Regions from separate parts of the Homo sapiens genome. Here region 2 is linked to region 1. The links are contacts of gene promoters, found by promoter capture Hi-C in blood cells and fetal thymus (Javierre and others, 2016). All regions are on one chromosome and are shown on one strand. Each heading gives the region's core, a stretch centred on a gene start or on the middle of the fragment in contact. The rest is flanking DNA. Distances are from core to core; before and after follow the strand shown. Region 1 holds the start of TRANK1 (tetratricopeptide repeat and ankyrin repeat containing 1). Region 2 overlaps TRANK1 (tetratricopeptide repeat and ankyrin repeat containing 1).

Region 1 (4,663 bases), core at 1,482-3,981:
GATGGCCTTTCTGGGCCTTAATTTCTTCATCTATAAAATGATCGTGGTCCAGCTCTTGATTGCAGCTGTGAAATTCTGAGACAAGACCCAAAGAATCCTTTTAGAAAACTATGAATCCAAGGCTGCAGTAGGGTTGCAGCATCTTCCCTTCTTCTTCCTCAAAAAAAAAAAAAAAAAAAAAAAAGAACAGGAGCTATTATGCCCCTACCTCCCTAGCATTTACACCAGGCCCCACTGGGATCCATGCAGGAGGCCAGCTCTCTGTGGACACATAGCCAGAACCAAAGTAACCAGAAGCATCTGCGGTCTGTCTTTGTAGATGGTACTGGCTTGAACCACACAGCCATGTCCTACAGTATTCTATCACTCAAGTATGAATTTCAGTCTACTTCATCACTCCTACACCAAGTCCTCACTTCCAAAGTCAACTCCCCTGTGAAATGCTGACGGTCTCCTCATACTCTGGGAGAGCGGCGGAAACAGAACCTGCAGTTGCCCCATAAAGCTGGTCAGTCGGTCATAAAGTGAAGTTAACAATTTATGACCCGCTTTAAAAAAAAAAAAAAAACATAGAATGGGCCGGCGTGGTGGCTCTGGCGTGTAATCCCAGCACTCTGGCAGGCAGAAGCGGGTGGATCACTTGAGATCAGGAGTTTGAGACCAGCATGGCCAACATGGCGAAACACCGTCTCCACTAAAAATACAAAAATTAGTCAGGCTTGGTGGCGCCCCACCCCCGGCCCCCCGTAATCCCAGCTATTTCGGAGGCTGCGGCAGGAGAATCGCTTGAACCCAGGAGGCGGAGGCTGCAGTGAGCCGAGATCGCCTCATTGCACTCCAGCCTGGGTGACAGAGCGAGAATCCCTCTGGTGGGGGGTGGGGGGAGGGAATAGAATGGAAAATATCATTGTGCCTCACCCTGTAGAAAGAATAACTATACCATGAAGCTCTTGCTGCAATTTTACATGTGTATGTGTGTGTGCGTATATATGTATATATAATATTACACACATATTATGCATATATACATTATATACATATAGGTGGGTGGGTGTGGGTCTTGATCGAAAAAAGACCTAGAAACCCATACATAGGCCAGTGGCAGTGGGATGCGACTCTGGGAGTGAATGCCACACACACCTATCCCACCTCTACCCACCCCCCCACCCCCCGCAGAGGATGCAAAAGCCAACAAAGAGCATATGAACTCAAGCACCTATCCTGCAATCCTACAAAACAGACCTGCCTGGAAAACAGTTGAAACAAACTCCTGACCACCGTCCCCGCCCTCCAACACACACACACCGTAGTACTTTTTTTTTTTTTCTATAAAGGACCAAACAGGATGCCATCCGGATAACAGCCTTATATCAAAAAGGATCCTGGAACCCAAAACGCTCAGCACGAGGGAGCAGGAGCGCATACCTACGCTGGGAACACAAGGCTTTAATCCCAGCTATTCCTTCCCGCATAAGGACTAACTGAGCCAGCAGCAACTGGGTTGGAGCAGATAGGGGAACTAGAGACCTCAGAGCCCCATTCTCTTTCTGCTTCTTAAATTTTTTTTTCTTTTATTTTCCAAATTGCACACTTCCATAAAAATTTTCCTAGGAAGCACCAAAGCTTTCAACTGCCCAGAAACACCCCGATCTGGGAGAAAAGGTGGCTTGAGCTGCACCTCAAAGATGGGCTCTATCTCAGCCGGGTTGCAAGTGCACAGGGCTCCCCGCGGGACGGAGACAGGGAGTTGGGAGGAAACGCAACGCGCCTCCCAGGCAACAGACTCCGAGCTCCGGTTCGGAAACGCTCCGAGGCAGAAGCAAGGGCTTCTAAGGGCTCCGCTTCCCAGCCTTGGGTCCCTACTACTACCTTCCCCCTAGACTCGGTGAGCCCAGGCTGATGGACCGTGCAGTCCAGTTTGAGCCAGCCCAGCAGCCCTCAATCGGGCGGGCAGGGAAGAAGGCCTCCTACTGCCGGGAAGAGGCCAGCGCGCTCCAAGTTCCCCGCAAATTCCGCCCTTCCCGCCTGGCACGGTTCCCTTGCACCGCTGTGCTCCGCTCCCAGGTTTCTGCCCGCCAAGAATGCTTGCCCCGGGGGCGCGCTCGCTGGTCAGGAACCTGTCGGCAGCCCCCGGGAACCCCTGAGGATGCGGAGGTGGGCCCGAGAGCTGCGGCTTCGATGCCGGGGTGGGAGCTAGGCAGGCCGCGCGCCGCCGCAGTCCTGTCGCAGCGCGTGCCCTGGTCCCTCCGGACCGAAAAGGCCGAAGCCGTCCCCCGCGACCGACCCCGCGCAACTGGCTCGGGTCTGCACCTAGATGGCTGTGGGCCCCACAGGGATGGCCGGGCGGGCCCGTTCGGCCGCTACCTCAGGGTCGCCAGTCCCCGCGCGCGGCCGCCTCCCGCCAGGAAGGGTGGCGGGCCCGGAAGGCCAGAGATGCCCCAGTGCTTCCCGCGCCGCTACGCACCTAGCTGCCCGCGGGTCCCACATGGCTGCGGCCGGAGGGTCCGCACCAGGACCGCCGCCGCCTGGGGAAGCGCTTCCCTGTGGGCAGGGCGCGGCGGGCAGTGCGGAAGCCCGAAAGCTACCGGAGCCCGGGGCAGGGGCGGCGCGATGCAGAGGCGGCGTTCGGGGGCCCCCAGCTGCCTGCGGCTCGGCTACCCAGCCGCGATCAGAGGGGGCGGGGGACGCAGGAACCCCGGCGTCCGGGCGGTGTGCAGCCGCAGACCTATTCCAAGTTTCCACGTAGTTGCGAGAGCCCAAAAACTGTCACGTGCACGTCGCTGCTGAGTGGGAGGAGGTGTTTGTCATCGCGTTCAAAAGGGGCGTTTCGGTGTCTCCCGTCATGCAAGCAAATGGTATGGCTCTCGGCCGCCTTTGAATAAACGAGTGCTTCGAACCCTTTACCAGGAGGGACTAGGCGCACAACCACCTCCGACACTCCTCGGGCATGCGAGAATTCGGCTTTCCTTAGTGGGGCCCATCAATGTTGTCCGGGAGGTAAAGAAAGTGATCGGCCAACGGCCTCAGCGTGGGTTTTCTCCTTCCCTCGTTCCTCCCTCCAACAAAGGACGTACGGAGAACAAGCCCCCTAGCTCCTACAGATGAGGAGCTCAGGAGTCGGGCGAATATCAAGTACTTACTGTGTGCTTGCCCCTCCACTCTGGGGAGGCTGGGGGTCCGGGAGTGAAGGGGGCAGCGAGACCGCGGGCTGCTCCACGCTCACCGTCGTGTCCATGGAGAGTAAGTGCGCACAGGCCTGAGCAGGCAACAAAATGAGGATCTTGCCTTGTCTTTCCACCTCCCCAGTGATGATCGACAGAGTAGTGGGTCGGAGAGGACCACCTCTGGCTGCTACCTCCCCAGCGGTTCTCGGCCTAGGGAGCCGGTTTGGTCTTCACAGCTTCTCTGGGCCTGGGAGTACTTTCCTACACACCAGAGAATCCACCCAATCAGAGAGCTAAGCCCGCCGCCCTCCCCTGGGGCAAGGTTCGGCCTACACTGCATCCCGGTGGTTCGCCCATCCTTCTGGGGGACCACCACACCAGGCTGCCTGGTGGCAGGGAGGACACCACCAGAGCTTTAGTGAGGGGGACCACACATTTCAGCGAAACAGAGAGGCTTTGGTAACACGTGGACACACCTAAGGCACACAGTATACTTCTCTCCACTGGTCATTCTGCGTTGTGAACTAGTCTCAGTCTAGCTAGTGGTCTCCTTGCTTCTAGAATCTCACAGAGATTTCTGTGCATTGATCTTCCCCAAACATCAGGATGAATCACGTACAGTTCAAAAGCCATCAGTGGCACTCCATTGTCTCCTAGAGATCAGGTTAGGTACCCGGGCATTTGAGATTCTTCTTCACAATCTTGCCCCACATTTCCAATCTTAGCTTCCTCATGCAAACTCTATACTGCAGTGCTTCCCAACCTTAGTTACACAATAGAATCACCTGGGGAGCTTAAAAACAAAAACAAGGCCGGGCGGGTGGCTCACACCCGTAATCCCAGCACTTTGGAAGCCTGAGGCAGGCGGATCACCTGAGGTCGGGAGTTTGAGACCAGCCAGACCAACATGGAGAAACCCCATCTCTACTAAAAATACAAAAAAAAAAAAAAAAACCCAAAAATATGCGTATGTTTGGCTTTTACTCCCAAATTGTCTAATTGACATGGGCGTCAGGAATTTTTGTTTTTGTTTTTGTTTTGAGACAGTCTCACTCTGTTGTTCAGGTGATTCTCCTGCCTCAGCCTCCTGAGTAACTGGGATTACAGGTGCCCGCCGCCTTGCCCGGCTGAATTTTTTAGATTTTTAGTAGAGGCGGGGTTTCACCATGTTAGACAGGCTGGTCTCAAACCCATGACCTCAAGTGATCCACCCACTTAGGCTTCCCCAAGTGCTGGAATTATAGGTGCAAGCCACCACACCCAGCCACATCAGGATTTTTAAAAGACTATAACATGCTGCAAAGTTTGAGAATCACTGCTAGCCACCAAATAGTTGGACTACTTGCTATTTCCCAGACATCATTGGTCCTTTCACTTTTAGGATACTTTCCATATCCTTCCTCCAATACTTTTCCCAACATCCCCCAATTCTATATTTAGGAAAGCACATGCCACCTCTTCTAGCATACCTCTTTCTGTTGGTGATTTTTGGGTTTGTT
Region 2 (4,059 bases), core at 1,560-4,059, 110 kb before region 1:
CCAAGATTCCACCATCCCCAAGTCAGAAGCCACGACAAGGAATTTAACCCTGAGAAATGTCCTCAGAGCCCAGGTCTCACTCTGCCTGGGCCCCCATCTCTGCAGACCCTTACCGCCAGCCCAGGCCTTCCGCCTGTAGAGGTCCTCCACCATATCCGAAACCCTCTTGATGTGCTCCTGGACCTTCTGCAGCATGTGGCTGTGCTCCTTGGAGCCCACGTGACTGTGGATCCATACACTTTGCTCGATGTCCTGCACCACCAGCTTGCCTTCATCAATGGCCGGGTCCACCTTCTCGTGGAAAAATTCTGAGTATTTCTGGTAGGCCACTTGCTGCCTCTGGTGGTGTTCTAGATGGATATGCTGCTCGTAAGACTCGCTGTTCCTCTCCTGACACTCCTCCCTTTCCAGCTCAGCCCTGGAAAGGACTGCCACCTCGGAAGCTGCCCCCTCAAACGCTTTGCTGGGGCTGAAATAGTTCTCTGGGCCACGGGTAAACTTCACTCCACATAGGTCACACTGGGTCCTGTCCACGTCTGCCTTTTTGAAGTTCCCAGCCCTGGGCTCCCTGGCCTCCTCCCTGACACGCTCCATCTGGGTGCCCACTCTTCTCCTCCAACTGATGCACAGAGACACCACCAGGCATGCCCTCCTCAACTTCCGCTGTATGGAGGCCTTCCGTTGCTTTTGGGAAAGAATGGTGGCCAGGACGTGGTCTCGGTCTTCTAATGCCAGTTCATCCATCTCATCCTGGCCAAACTCACACTCAGGTTCAGCAAAGTAGTCCACAGGGTCCAAACAGAGCAGGCGGTTTAGTCTGACCTCCTCATAATAGAGGCCACGGACTATGGACCCTTTGGTGTGCACAGGGTCCCACCGCCAGTCACAGTCCATTAGGTACTCTTCATCCCGCTCAAAGAGCAGGTCCTGCAGTGCCTCAGCCACAGACTTCACATTGACTGCCACCAAGACCCGCTTCACCACCTTCAGGAGCCTCTCGGGAACCTGGCCAGGGCAGTCCATGCTCATGAGCTGCAGCCTTGACTCAATCTCCCGGAAGTGGCGATACAGGAGAGGCTTGCAGTATGGCTGCAGGATCTCCTCAGCATTCACTAGCATCACCAAGCACAGCACCAGTGTCCGCTCAGCCTCACCCGAGACCACATAGTCTATTTCACTGAAGGCATCAAGCAGGACGTTGAAGTTCACATTCTCATAGCCACATAGCACCTTGGCGAGGTAGGAGAGATGGAACCGGAAATCCTGAATGGCTCTTGTCACGTCCTTGGGTTTGTATTCCTGAATGATGGAGAACACATCCCCAAGCTCCTTGTCCTTCTTGCTAAACAGGAACTCCCAGTAGTGCAAGAGTGCAATGTAGCTCTTGGGGAGGCATAGAATGACATTCTTCCAGAGGCGGGCCAGCACCACCCCACAGTGGATGAACTGGAACTCCAGGAGGGCTACTGTGTTTCCAATGCTGGGGATGAGTGGTTCTTTGCACCTCTTGATGAGGACATTCATGAAACGGAAAAAGAGCCTCTTGTAGTCTTCTGGGTTCCTGTACACGTAGAATTGATCAATGCAATTCTCCAGAAGCCGGATGAAGCACAGGTGGGTCTTGTCCATATTTTCATCATCCCTGTTGGGTGCCAGCATGCCAAATTTCCCTTCTATTCCTTTTATCCTGCTGCCTCTCCCCCTGCCCCTTTCATCCTTTTCAGACTCTAGAGCTTTGAGTTCCCTGTTGTAGTTGTCCTCCTCCTGGTGGAGCAGCTTTTCAAACTCCTCCGGGTAGTTGGAAGAGAGAAGGAAAGCTTGCATGGCACTCAGCCACAGGTCTGTGGATTCCCGGCGGTTGCGTGCGCTTTCATTTTCAAACAGAAAGTGGATGTACTCCTTCAAAGCAAATCTGTAGAACCGGAAGGATTTGTAATTTGGTTTGAGGATTTCTTTGCATGCCATGGGGTTTTCTGACAACACTCTCTGATGGAAATGCTTAGGGAAAAGGACATCCAGAATGGACTTGCAAAGGCCATACATATCTGTAGACAAAATATAATCAATTTCTTTAAGTTCTTCTGCTAAGATTTTAGGGAATACTTTTTTGGCTTCCAAAAGCAACCCGTTGATTGCCACCAAGTTCATTTTCGACTGAACTAAACACTTGGCTTCACAACGCCGCAGAGGCCTGTGAAAATGTTCACAGTTTTCATCCTCACATTTTAAGCCTACAATAAACCTCATGCAGACTCCTCGGTAGGTCTTCCCAAGCAGGCTCCGTGTGATCTGACACAGCCTGCCCAAAAGGTGTTTGTTTAGGGCTAATTTCACTTGGTCAGTCATTATCAAAAAATGATCTTTTGTTTTTTTCTCTCTCAAGTTCAAATCCAGGTCAAAAATTATTCTTAATATGGGCCCAGGGTCATTCTGAGCTATCTGGCAATACTTGGCATCCACCTGGGAAATCCCAAAAAACTCAAAGCAAGATTTGACCATTTCCTTCTCAGCATTGTTGGTCACTCTTTTGAGAGCCCTGACCAGACTGAGGAGGATTTCCAAGCCCCCTGGAGCCAGGCCCAGAATCTTCTCAGGCTCGGCCTCACACTGGCTGGCTGCTTCGTAGAGTGCTTCCACCACTCCAGCTGAGTGGTTGAGCGTGTCAAACTTGAAGAAGGCATCCCTGAGCTTCTGAAAGTCTCTCAGGATTACCCCTTGCAGGAAGTGGGCCTCCGCAATGCCAGACAACTGGCCAGTTTGATAGCAGATATCAAGTGCTTCTCTCAGAATGTCCTTGGTGTGTTCTATGTCGGAATCCCTGGCCACATTGAGGCGGGCGGCCCCCAGCAGACATGAGGCCTGGAAGTCCTTGTCGGCAGTGAGCCTGGCAGCCTCCAGGAGGCAGCCATGTTGCTTCATCAGCAGGGCAGCCTCTTCTCTCCTACCTTCCCTGTTCAGCAGGTCTGCAGCTTCTGCTAAGCGTTTCCGAGACTTCAAGAACACCAGCTGGTCTTCTATGTCTAGCTTTGAGAGGACAGCCATCATTTCCTTCATCTTATTTGCACTCAGATACTTTGCTGCAGCTTCCAAGTAAAACTGACTGGCAGAATAGGAGAGCTTGGAAATGGGAAGGGTCTTAGTCTTTAGCATTTCTTCATACCTGCAAAGACAAAGGACACAAATGTCAACTTGCCATCACCCAATCAATAGAAAATTTCCTCCAAAATACAGTGCAGAGCAACTTAAATAAAACTCCCACATGTAGATATTACAAAATAAAACCTAAACTTGTCAAGCATTCAAGTATTTTTACAAAGGCCTTATTTTACACTGTTACCAGTATAATAATAATGAATAAATTCCTTATGCTTCAATCAGGAATTGGTGTGCTTAATTAATGAAATATAGTGGAGGTGTAACTCAAACAAGTGGGAGTGAAATCCAAAAGTCAATCTATAGGGCAAATGTTATGCATAGTCTAAATTATCCTTGAAAAACATCTCTTTGGTTCTCATAAAAGCATCATAATCATCTGGGTCTACAACTCTGTTCAGTTTGATAAAATGAGAAAGGATGAAATGGGGGCTGCACATGCATCAGCAATTACACCAGTCTTCCCCTTATTACCCAACTTGTGATTCTTCTCTTTTAGCAGGTGTGCATTAGTTGGGTTCCTGTGAGATTAATGAGGCTCTGAAGGACTCCCCTTTATTCTGCTGATGGAAGTCAGAATACGTCATTATATACACACTCATAACATACTCCCATCCCCCTCAGCCCCCTCTCTTTGTGACACTGCATCAAAGCTTATAAAGAGACTGGAAAATAGAGTCCTGCTCTCAAAGAGCTGCTGACCCAGCACTGAGGCCATCGCTTAAGTGGAAAGGGAGCAATGTGGTCAAACCATGTCAGAAGCAGCAGGATAGCACCACCCAGAGCAGGCTGCCCCCAGAGAGAAGTGGGAGGAAGAGAGGGAGAAAGGGAGAGAATAAAACCACCTACTTTTCCACTGCAATAGCAGCTTCTTCAAAAAGCTCCTCTTGGCAGTACATTTTGAGT

The links. Contacts are between HindIII fragments. The CHiCAGO score rates a contact against its expected background, and 5 or more counts as called.
Region 2: a fragment that was not itself captured here is called in contact with the fragment with the promoter of TRANK1 in region 1 in 4 of 17 cell types (neutrophils, naive B cells, non-activated CD4 T cells and 1 more); the score reaches 5.9 in neutrophils.

What each region holds. Positions count from the first base shown.
Region 1 is chr3:36,942,323-36,946,985 of GRCh38, forward strand. TRANK1 (tetratricopeptide repeat and ankyrin repeat containing 1) reads right to left here and starts at 2,732. Exons shown (of 24, transcript NM_001329998.2): 1 at 2,465-2,732. The coding sequence starts at 2,487. RefSeq lists a silencer at 2,380-2,599 and an enhancer at 2,830-2,899. The HindIII fragment of the contact is 7,723 bases long and covers 1,622-4,663 here.
Region 2 is chr3:36,830,760-36,834,818 of GRCh38, forward strand. TRANK1 (tetratricopeptide repeat and ankyrin repeat containing 1) reads right to left here. Exons shown (of 24, transcript NM_001329998.2): 21 at 4,003-4,059; 22 at 114-3,160. Among named protein-coding and RNA genes, the nearest start is that of LINC02033, 10 kb to the left of the region's middle. The HindIII fragment of the contact is 1,989 bases long and covers 1,816-3,804 here.